Regions from separate parts of the Homo sapiens genome. Here regions 1 and 2 are each linked to region 3. Evidence: promoter capture Hi-C in 16 types of primary human blood cells and fetal thymus (Javierre and others, 2016). All regions are on one chromosome and are shown on one strand. Each heading gives the region's core, a stretch centred on a gene start or on the middle of the fragment in contact. The rest is flanking DNA. Distances are from core to core; before and after follow the strand shown.

The links. The method cuts DNA at HindIII sites, captures the fragments that hold promoters and counts their contacts. A CHiCAGO score of 5 or more calls a contact.
Region 1: a contact is called between a fragment that was not itself captured here and the fragment with the promoter of MFNG in region 3, in 7 of 17 cell types (non-activated CD4 T cells, naive CD4 T cells, fetal thymus and 4 more). The highest score is 9.2, in non-activated CD4 T cells.
Region 2: a contact is called between a fragment that was not itself captured here and the fragment with the promoter of MFNG in region 3, in 6 of 17 cell types (endothelial precursors, non-activated CD4 T cells, fetal thymus and 3 more). The highest score is 9.3, in endothelial precursors.

What each region holds. Positions count from the first base shown.
Region 1 is chr22:37,278,912-37,282,491 of GRCh38, reverse strand. No RefSeq gene overlaps it. Among named protein-coding and RNA genes, the nearest start is that of CYTH4, 1.8 kb to the left of the region's middle. RefSeq lists an enhancer at 176-225. The HindIII fragment of the contact is 686 bases long and covers 908-1,593 here.
Region 2 is chr22:37,320,431-37,324,333 of GRCh38, reverse strand. The region is part of intron 1 of LOC105373024 (a long non-coding RNA gene); the gene reads left to right. Among named protein-coding and RNA genes, the nearest start is that of CYTH4, 40 kb to the right of the region's middle. The HindIII fragment of the contact is 2,808 bases long and covers 307-3,114 here.
Region 3 is chr22:37,483,980-37,487,738 of GRCh38, reverse strand. It overlaps MFNG (MFNG O-fucosylpeptide 3-beta-N-acetylglucosaminyltransferase), which reads left to right and starts at 1,355. Exons shown (of 8, transcript NM_002405.4): 1 at 1,355-1,816. The coding sequence starts at 1,562. RefSeq lists enhancers at 1-462, 463-974, 975-1,484, 1,961-2,010, 2,411-2,470 and 2 more and a silencer at 1,261-1,390. The HindIII fragment of the contact is 3,313 bases long and covers 974-3,759 here.

The DNA.
Region 1 (3,580 bases), core at 1-2,500, 210 kb after region 3:
GATGCGTCACCTTGACTGTAACAGGCTCCTTCCTGCTTGCCCCGCCCAGCCCTGTGTGGGGAGGAAGTCAGTCCTGGCCCACGGGGGTCTCGTGTGCAGGCTTTTGACAAAACAGCACTTCCTAAAAACTGGCAGAGTTTTGAGCAGCAGGGACTTTTGCCAGGGAGGGACAGAGGTGGAAACAAACAAACAAACAAACAAACAAACAGATGAAGTGAGGGGAGGGCCAGATAAAAAAGAGAAAGACAGTGAGACAGAAAGAAACACACAGACACATATGCACATACACACGTACACATGCACAGACACCGAGGGCGATGTTCACTGAGGACGAACATTTTCCAGGGGACCATGGGCATTCACGTGGCAGCCTCCTCACATATATGCCATAGGAGCGCCCAACTTGGACAGTCCTAGCAGGGCCCCCTGTGTTCCACCCCACAAGCTCTCTTCCAACTCCCACTTGAGAAGAGACAAATGAATTCACTGCTAGGAAGGGCTTTGCTTCCCTTCAAAGAAATATCTGGCTTTTTCTTGTCTAGTGAACAATCGGGTAATATGTTCCACTTTCCTTCTCCCCCAGGCTGCTGGGAAACTCATCGTCAAATCCAAAGCTCATCGACAGCTATTCTATGATGTCATGTGAACTTTGGGGCCTGACTCAGCTGTTTGACTCTCAGCTAGGGCTAGTCAGCCTCGCTTTGCTTATCTCTGAAAGGGGAATAACACTAACTCGGGGATATGGAAACCATGGAGTGAGAGGATGTGTCGGAGATGCTTGGGACATAGTAGGTGCTCAATAAACACTTTCTCCTTTGATTTTAATTATCTTCTTTGGTTAAAATGTATCATGTTATTCCTTGTGCCTTTTCTGGCAGGTTGGTTCAAATCCTTTCTGCAAAAAGCTTTGCTGTAAAGAAACAGGTATAAATTAAATGTGAATTCCCTATAACTTCAGGACACATGCAGAGTTATTCATCTGTTTCCCCATTACTCTCCAGGCCCCATGAGGGCAAGGTTACCTTTTGTGTTCTGGTGTGTGGTAAAATGCTGGGGACATAGAGGGTGTGCAAGTGTGGAATGAATGAACAAATGAATGAATGAATGAATGAATGAAGGGAACATGGAAGAGATCACGGCCGATGTGAAAGCTAGCTACAAGTTCACCTCCTTTTCACTATGCCGCCGCTTCTGCTGTCAAGGGGCGAAGTCCATTTCTCCTTCCTTGGAAGCTGAGCTGGCCTTGGGCATCTCTTTGACCAATAGCACGTGGCAGAAATGATGTGCCGTGATGTTCGAGGCTGAGCTTTAAAAGGCCTTGCAGCTCCTGCTCTTGCTCTCAGCCCCCTGCCTGGCTACCATGAGAACAAGCCTGGGCTAGCCTGTTGGAAGACGGAGGACCACAAGGAGATAGGCTGGGCTGTCTTGGCTGTCCCCTGGTTGCTGCCTCATCAGTGAGGCCAGGGGACACCAGAAGAAGAACCATCAAGCGGAGTCCCACCCAAACTGCTGACCCATAGCACTGTGGGAAATAATACATTTTTGTGGTTTAAGCCACCAACTTCTGGGATGCTTTGTTATGCAGCCAAAGCTTGCTGATACAGAAGAAATCCAATGCTGTCATTTCCTCGGAGAGAAAACTGAGGCTTATTTCTGGGAAACACTTGACCAAGTTGGAACTTGAGTGAGTGCCAATTCAGGCCCAGAAGCCAGGCCTACTAAGTCCCCGTCTAGTGTGCTCAGGATTTTTGAACCCCGCTGCTTCTCCCCTGCCCTGCCTCCACCTGGGTTCTTGTATAACTCATGGTTCTTTTCTGGAAAACTTGTTACAATTATTTCCATGGTAAACTAGATTTTTCTCAACTGCTTTGGGCCTGAGGCACCACAAACCATGCCCTTGGCCATTTTAAAACTAGAAATGTGGGCTGGGCATAGTGGCTCATGCCTGTAATCCCAGCACTTTGGGAGGCCGAGGCGGGTGGATCACAAGGTCAGGAGATCAAGACCATCCTGGCCAACGTGGTGAAACCCCGTCTATACTAAAAATACAAAAATTAGCTGGGCATGGTGGCGGGTGCCTATAATGCCAGCTACTTGGGAGGCTGAAGCGGGAGAATCACTTGAACCAGAGAGTCGGAGGTTGCAGTGAGCTGAGATCGCGCCACTGCACTCCAGCCTGGCAACAGAGTGAGACTCCGTCTCCAAAAACAAAACAAAAGAAAAAACAAAACAAACAAAATAACCCCTAGAAATATGGAGAAAGGTATATATAATTCCCTGTGCAGAAAGACTTCACACTGCAGGCCGGAGACTGCTATCTTTAGAAAGTCATGCTTGCAAAGTTGACCCTTGGCTGGCACCTGGGAGCTTGGATTTGGGGAGGGCTCCCACCACCCTAACTGATGAGAGTGGCTTACTGGGCCTAACCTATTTGCCTAGCGTCCCTGGCAGCATCCCATCTCACAGGTGCTTTCACGACTTGTTGCTGGAGGAATTGAGCGTGTCCCGTGTGACTCTTTTGGGAGCAGACTCTTGGAAGCTGCCCCTGGTTTCCTCTGGACTTCGCCACGGCGCCTTTGCGGATTCTGCTTTGAGTCCTTTCACTGCCATAGATCATAGCCGTAAGTATGACCATGAGCTGAGTCCTGGGAGTCCACCTAGTAAACCACTGAACCTGGGATGGCCTTGGGGAAGGCTGCCTGATCTTGCGGCTGATCCAGTAAATGTGTCTTGACCAGGCCACGGTTTGGCATCTGACACTTCCCTTTTGTCTGATGGATGGTCACGGTTGTGTGGTTCAGCTATTGTTACTGTCTTATTCTCTAAGACATACCTCAAATACCACCTCCTCTGTGAGGTCCGTTGTGATGACACCTCCCCTCCCTCTTTCCCACAACGCTGGTCATGTTTAACGGCTTATATGCAGACAGCCTGGGAGGGAGGGACTCTTTCACTGTGAGCAGCAAAGAGTTTAGCAGAACTGACTTCATCATTTTCTCCGTCACTCCTTGTCCAGGTTTGGCTGCAAGATTTGCTGGGAACCAATAGCACAGGCAATGAGGAGAGCAGGAAGCTGGACCCAGGGGAGTCACAGAGAACTGGATTTGAATCCTGACTCAGCTCTTGTGAGCTGTGTGATCTTCTTCCTTCCCCTCCGAGCCTCATTTTTAATCATTTAAAATCATCTACAAAATGGAGACAGTTCAGGTTAGGTTTGCCTACATGAAACAGAAAACCCAAATAATAATAATGGTTTAAAGAAACTAGAGGTTTATTGATCTCTTACAAGAAAGAAACCTGAAGTGGGCAACACATGGCTGCCCTGTAGCAGCCTGGGCATGGATCCAGGATCCTTCTAACTTTCGGCTGCTGTCCTCAAATTCTCTTCATGGTCCAAAGTGGCTGCTTGATCTCCAGCTATCATGTCTAAATTCCAGGTAGGAGGAAGGATGAAAACGGGAAGGAATCCCCTTAAAACTTTCTGGCCTGAGATCAGTCCTTCTGCGCTACATCAGGCTCTGGTTCCCACCTGTGTACCAGGCAGGGGATCCGCAGTTGGTTCTGGGACAACAAATGAGAG
Region 2 (3,903 bases), core at 461-2,960, 160 kb after region 3:
TGAGGATGATGCCTTTGACCTTCCAGCCGCGCATCCAGCTCTGGCCTGCCCTGTGCCTCTCTGCGGGGGGACTCTGCAAATGGGGAGAGAGACAGCGTGGCTAATGTCGAGGAGAGCTGAGGGTGGTGGGTTGTCCTGGTGCTGAGGGGCTCTTGGTTTCTGACTATGCCTTCTATCACCACCACAGGGTTTGAGTTGAGCCAGGATCCCCCACCCCCACCACCCCTCAAGGTGCAGGAAATCTCATCATTCAAAATCCATTTCCTTTATATTGTCACATTCTGGAGAAGGGCTCCAATCTAAGCTTAAAAGTGATAGAGAAAATAAAAATGGGAAAGTCAGATGGATTCGGCCACTTTGTAAGCCAGAAAAATGGCCCCAGCAGACAGGTGAGCAACAGCTTTGGAAAAATCTCTAGCAATCAAGAACGGCCATGGGGGTTTATCTTTGCTCTGTAATGATCCCAGGCAGACGGAGAGGAAAGGCAGAGAAACCTGCAGGTGAATGGGCAAAGGGCAGGAGCGATGATTCACACTAGAAAGGAAACACAAATGCTTAACCCTCACAGGGAGAAAGTCCATTCCCACTCAGATATGAAAGGAATACAAATGTTAATCAATGCAGTTCCATTCAAACTCACAAATATTTTAAAACATAAAGTTATTTAATTTACCGCTGAATAACTGTAACTATTTTTAACTGAACTCATGGTTACCCTGGTAGTCCATCCTCCCAACTGCTCCAATTCACAGATAGGAACCTAGGCTAAGAGAGGCTAATTGCATAATTTGCTCCAGGTTAGACCTCTGGTGAGTAGCTGAGCAGGGTCACCTGTTCGGTGGCAAAGTGGTGGCATCTGGCCGGGCGCGGTGGCTCATGCCTGTAATCCCAGCACTTTGGGAGGCTGAGGCAGGTGGATGACCTGAGGTCGGGAGTTCAAGACCAGCCTGACCTATATGGAGAAACCCGGTCTCTACTAAAAATACAAACTTAGCCAGGTGTGGTGGCACACGCCTGTAATCCCAGCTATTCAGGAGGCTGAGGCAGGAGAATCGCTTGAACCCGGGAGCTGGAGTTTGCAGTGAGCCGAGATTGCACCACTGCACTCCAGTCTGGGCAACAGAGCGAGACTCCATCAAAACAAACAAACAAACAAACAACAAAAAAACCCACAAACAAACCACACACACAAAAACGCAAAGGTTAGGCTTCATCCCAGCCCCCGTGGATCAGAAACTCTGGCGCTAGGGACCAGCAATCTGTTTTAAGGAGCTCTCCAGGTGAGCTGGAGGCTACAATTAGAGAATGACTGCTCTGGGCTCCAGGAGAAGGTAAGGAAAGCAGGTACGTGCTTTCGCTGCAGAAGGCAAATTGTATTGTTTCAACCTTTTTGAATTACCTATGGATAACAGGTATTGTGAGCCTGTAAACGGCCACCAATGGCACCTCTGAGAAGCCACTGAGAAGTAGACATGGTTTTATCCATGGAGGTATTTAAGACAATGTATTTATAAACATGGAATACTGGAAACAGTCTGAGTCTCCAGCAATAGGGGACTGGGGAGAGAAACCTTGGTTCATCTAAAAGATGGCTGCTGTGCAGTTTTGAAAAGTGAGTGTGTAAAGACCGCACAACGTGGTACAATAGGAGCAGACAAGTCCTCCTGGGTTGCCCAGGACTTTCCCAATTTTAGCACAAGAAGGCCGGCATTTTGGAAAACTCCTTGGTCCTGAGAAAATGGGGACAATTGGTCACCCTAGCTATAATCGGCACTAGTGCCACACCCCAAGTATTACTGTCCTCCCATGTTGCATGGCCGGTGGTAGGATGGTATTTCATCTGGCCTTGCAGTGAGGTAGCTATGTGACATGTTTTGGCCAATGCAATGTGAGCGGAAGTGGCATGTCACATCCAGACAGCGCTCCTGGCAATTCATGCCAGGATGGCACCTCCTCAGCCTAGGTCCCTGAGTGACTATGATAAGCAGAGACTCCATGCCGATCCCTACCCTGCAATCCCAGGGCATAGGGTGTGAGCAAGACATAACCTCTTGTGGTGTGTGAAGCCACTGAGATTTGGGGATATTTGTTGCCACAGTGTAACCTAACCTGTCCTGGCTGGTATACACGTGGACATCCGGATTTCATAGTTTTAAGGCTTAAGTGTTAGGCCGGGCATGGTGCCTCACACCTGCAATCTCAGTACTTTGGGAAGGCCGAGGCGTGCAGATCACTTGAGGTCAGGAGTTCGAGACCAGCCTGGGCAACATGGTGAAACCCCGCCTCTACTAAAAATACAAAAATTAGCCGGGTGTGGTGGTGCATGCCTGTAATCCCAGCTACTCGGGAGGCTGAGGCAGGAGAATCGCTTGAACCTGGGAGGAGGAGGTTGCAGTGAGCTGAGATTGTGCCACTGCACTCTAGCCTCAGGGACAGAGCGAGAATCTGTCTCCAGAAAAAAAAAAAAAATTGGCTTAAGGTTACAAAACTGCATTTGCAGTATCATTGCAGAGACATAACAGGTGTGTTGGAAATATTCTGAAATGTTTACAAAATTATCAGGTAGAGGAATTCTTGGTCTAGGTTTTTTTTTAACTTTTAGGATTGGGATACATGTGCAGGTTTGTTATATAGATAAACTGCCATGTGAGTTTGGTATACGGATAATTTTGTCACCCAGGTAATAAGCATAATACCCACCAGGTATTTTTTTCTAATCCTCTCCGTCCTCCCACTGTCCACCCTCCAGAAGGCCCCAGTGTCTGTTGTCCCTCTCCTAGTATTCATGTGTCCTCATTATTTAGCTTCCACTTATACGTGAGAACATGCGGTATTTGGTTTTCTGCTCCTGTCTATGTTCGTTTGCTTAGGATAATGGCCTCCAGCTCTAGCCGTGTTGCAACAGAGGACATGATCTCATTTGTTTTTTGGTCTAAGTTTTTCTTCCTCTTCATTGCGCTTTCCAATTTTCTGCAATGAGCATGTTTTATTAATTTTTAAATGGGGGACATTTTCTGAAAAAATCATTTCTTTGGATCAAAGGTTGGTCCCCTCTGGGCTCTTATTTATGAACTGAAAATCCCTTGGGGGAGGGAGAAAGAGAAGAGTTAAGCTTTAGCCTCAAAGGATCACAGGGACTGGAAAGGTCACAGAATTAATCCTGCCCTTCTGCTGGAGCCTTCTAGCTGGTGGCTCCTCCTGGCCTTAGCAATTGGATCAGATGCCTGTTCCTGGTCGTGTGACTCTGGGCAAGTCACAAGCTCTCTGAGCCTCCACGTCCTCATCTGTTAAATGGGAATAATCCTGTTTACCTTGTGGGCTCCTGGGAGGATCAGATGAGATGAAGTATGTTCTACAAATGCCGGCGCCTTCTGCCTCGGTCTTCTTCATGGAGCCTCCGTGCTGGGTGACTTAGGGCGTGTGCCTGAATGTCTGTGACCTTTGATTTCATCATGGAAGAACAGGCAGGGTGCTTTTTTAGGCCAGGGCATTTCTGGATGGGGCTGGAGGCCCCCGTACAGAAGCTGAGAGGGATGGAAAAGGAGAGGGCTTGTAGGCCTTGGTGTTCAGCAGCCGAACAAAAACTTTGAGCCTGGCAACCCCAGACCACGAAGCCAGCCCACCAAAAGCCAAATGGTGAAACCTCTGGAGTCTTAAAGTAGCCCCGGGGACAGGGGTGGTCAGGGAGGGCTTCCTGCAGGAGGAGAGCTGGCAGGATGGCATGGACAGCCCCCATTGCCTTCCATGGTTCTGTCCTGTTCAGAGTCCTTGAACTCAGCCCTCTCGAGGGAGACTCCATCAAGAATATAACAGTGACAGCTAATATCTGCTGACGGCGTGCAGTAGACCAGGTTTACCCAATCCAGTGTCAGTCCACACGGTGCCACTTTGGGGTAGGACTTG
Region 3 (3,759 bases), core at 106-2,605:
TCCCTTTGCCAGCCACCTGGTACTTTGTTGTGTTGAATTAACATTGATTGAGTTCTTGTCTGCCGGTCACTGTTCTAGGCACTGGGGATTAGGGACTCAGTGATCAAAAAATAAATCCTGCCCTGATATTCTCATGAGGAGGACAGAAACTTAGTTAAACATACAGAATGTTGGAAGATGAAAAGTGTGATGAAGAAAACAGTGAAGTGGCTTGAGAGGGACAGGCCTGGGGGGCTGGGAAGGAGGCGGCGAGGGGTTGCAATGTTAATAACGTGGTCAGGGAAGGCCTCACAGAGACGGTGACCTTTGTGTAAAGACCAGAAGGGAGTGGGGGAGTGAGACGTGCAGGTCTCTAGGGAGGGGCCCAGGTGGGAACAGCAAGTGCCAAGGTCCTGTGGCGGCCAGGTGCCTGGGCCAGCGAGGGTCCCAGGTTCTGGAGTGGAGCAGGGTGAGTAGCAGGAGATGGGGTGGGAGTAACTTGGGAGCCAGCTCACGCAGGGCCTTGTGGGCTGCTGTGTGCGTTTTGGCTTTTGTTCTGAAGAAAATGGGAGCCAGTGCAGGCTCTGAGTGGAGGAGGGAGGAGGTGTGAGTGAGCTTGTGCGAAACAAGATGGAGGTGGTGGCTGGAGAAGGCCCTCTGTCTGTCCACTGGTCAGGTGCTGGGAGAGAGGCAGCTCCAGAGACTGCGGAGTGAGGTCGGGTATGGGCTGGGGCACAGCTGGACAGGTGCCCTCAGGGGACCTCCTGTGAACTAGATGAGGAACAGAGACCTGGGTTCTGCCAGCTCTGCGGCTGAGTTGCTGGATCGTTTTTGCTCATTCTGTGCCTTTGTGCCTTATGTCTTCAGCTATAAACTGGGAACGACAGTCCCAGTGCTGTTGTGAAGACCTCAGGAACTGAGCGAACAACTGTGGGAGCCCCAGAGGTTAAGAGGTTATCACGGAAGGCTTCCTGGAGGAGGGAACCCTTAAGCTTTGAAGTCCAGATAGAACTCAGCCTAGTGGAGGGAATGTGGGTGAGGCTGGTGGAATATGGGAGAGCATCCCGGAGGAAACCTGTGAGCAAAAGCTGGGGGCTGGGTGAAGCAGGACACCAAAGTAATGGGTGTTGAATGGGCCGAGCTGACAGCTCTCTGGGGGAGTGGACGGTGCTGGAGGACACTCCCTTCCACCGGGCACGGAGGGTTTGTTGTGACTTCCTCCCACCGCAGCAGCTGGCAGAGCCGGGGCTGCCCTTTCTGCTGGTGCCTCCTTTCAGCCGCCTCTGTCTGGGGTTCCCTTCGTCTGGCCCCGCCCCTCGGGCTAAGCGGGGCGGGGCCAGGCGGTCCCGGAGGCTGCGGCAGGCCGGACAGCGGGAGCAGGTGGAGGACTGGCGGCGGTCGAGATCGTGCTGCCATGGCTCAGCCTCTGGGTCCAGAGCCTCAGCTCCTACCTCTTCCCTCCTTGCCAGCCCCTGATGCCTGCCAGACTTTTGCCTCTGCTGGAGCCCCTGCCTGACCAGCTTCCCCTCCCTGTCTGGTTGGGATTTGGGGGCTGAGCTGTCTGGGGTCCCAGGGCCAACCAATGCAGTGCCGGCTCCCGCGGGGCCTGGCTGGAGCCCTCCTCACCCTCCTGTGCATGGGGCTCCTGTGTCTGCGGTACCACTTGAACCTGTCCCCGCAGCGGGTACAAGGGACCCCCGAGCTGAGCCAGCCGAACCCGGGGCCCCCTAAGCTACAGCTACACGATGTCTTCATTGCAGTGAAGACGACCCGGGCTTTCCACCGCTTGCGCCTGGAGCTGCTGCTTGACACGTGGGTTTCCAGGACCAGGGAACAGGTGACAAGTGGGTGACATTGGGCCCTGGGGGTGGCCCCTGGCCTAAGGGGTTCTCAGAGGCCTTTCTACTGGGCTGGGGTCCCTGACTGCCTCATGGGAGAAGCTGCTCAATACCTGCCTAATCAGGGATCCTCTTCCTCTCTCCTTCTTCCGGGCTTTAGGGGCTGCCTGCGGCCCTGCCCGTGCCCTGTACTGGTCCTGACTCCAGGTGCACCCAGGTCCTACCGCTCCACCACTTTTGGGGGCCAGGCTGGGCCCCTGCTCCAGGCTCCCGGGTCCCTCCTGGGGGTTCTTCTATTCCTAGCCGCTCCCGTGGGGGCTTCGCTCCTAGCCACCCAGGCCCAGCCTGGCATCAGGGGTAATGGTGGGTGTTGGGCAGCTGGGGTGGAGGCCTCCAAGAGGTCCTGACCCAGACCCGTGCCCAGGCCAGGCTGTCCCACCCAGGCCCTAGGTGCTGTCCTGCCCGGGCTCTGAGGGTGGAGGACGGGAGGAGAATGGTGGGGTCTGTTCTTGGGGGAGGCATCCCTTCGGCCTTCCCGATAGCCCCTGCCGCTGTGTCTCTGCTGCCCCGGGTGTGCCGAGGCCGCCATGTCTGGCCTCCTGTGTTGGCTTCCTGCGGACTGCTTCCGAGGGAGGGAAGGAGAGCGCATGCCACGAGGGTGGCGGCTGAGGCAGTGGTGGGCCGGAGGTTGGGGAGGCCTGCCTGGCACGTGGGATTGTGTGTGTGTGTGTGTGTGTGCTCACACGCACGGAGCTGGAGTGTGCTAGATGTGTGTGACAAGAGGCATGTCTGTCACATGGCTGTGCGGCTCCGGCGAGCCAAGTCCCTTCCAGCCCTTTCCCTCCTCGCATCCAGTATCTTCCTTAAGCAAAGTTAGTGATGTCGGTGTTAGGGACCGTTGATGGGGGAGGTGGAGAATGGGTACACACACACACACACACACACACACATCGGTCCCCTCTTTGGCGGCTGGCTCAGTGGGAGGAAGTGACTGAGTCTTTGGAGATAGTCGAGACCTCCTGGAAGACCAAAAGGAGGGGGAGAGGATGGCTGGCAGAGGCCAGGCCCTCCTGGGGAGGGGCACCCTGCCCTGATTTCTGCCCTCGTACTTGGGATTAACTCTTCCCCAGCTGGCCCCCAGCACCTCAGCTCTTCTCTGGGCCCCACACGGCTTCTCATCTTGGGGAGATCCTGGTTCTTCCTGCGGAAGCAGCCAAGGCGGGCCCTCCCGCAGGCCTTCCTGTTTATGCGTCTGTGTACCCGGGAGCGTGGCCTCACGTGGCCCACGGCCCTTTCCTGTCTTATCTCCATCACCGCGGTGGTGCCCTTGCCCCGGATGAGGAAACTGAGGCCAGAGAGAGGAAGTGCTGGCTGGCGTGGTGTCACGCAGAAGGCCTGAGGGGACAGAGCCCAGTGGGACCTAGAACCTTGCTCCTGGTTGGGTGCTTTTCTCCCCTGCTGAGACTTGGGAACCCTGTGAGGACTGGGTCACTGGGCTACAGGAGTCGCTACCCCACGTCTCTCACCCTTTGGCTCACTTCTCTCTGTGACCTCAGCCAAGGCCCTCCCCTTTCGGCCCGCAGTTTCCCCATCTGCACGGGGCAGGAGTGTCTGGACCGGGCCTGAGCTGGTTAACTGCAGCGCTGGGCGCCCGCCTGGCTGGTTAAGGGCGGTCGGGTGGCAGGTGGGCCTTGCGGCAGGGGCCGGGACTCGTGTGCCGGCCTTTGTCCTGGGCTGAGGGGGTGGGCTGGGGGAGGCGGGTTTTGTGCTCAAGGCGAGCCTTTCTCCTCCCTATGGTCCCCTTGTTGGGGGGAGAGGTGGCAGCAGCCCCACCACTCCCCTCCTCTGCAGCAGATGGTCCCCGGCCACCCCTCCCCTGCCCCAGCAGGCTGCGTGTCCCTTTGTTTCCCGCGGCTGCCTGTGAAGTTTTCACCATTGTCAG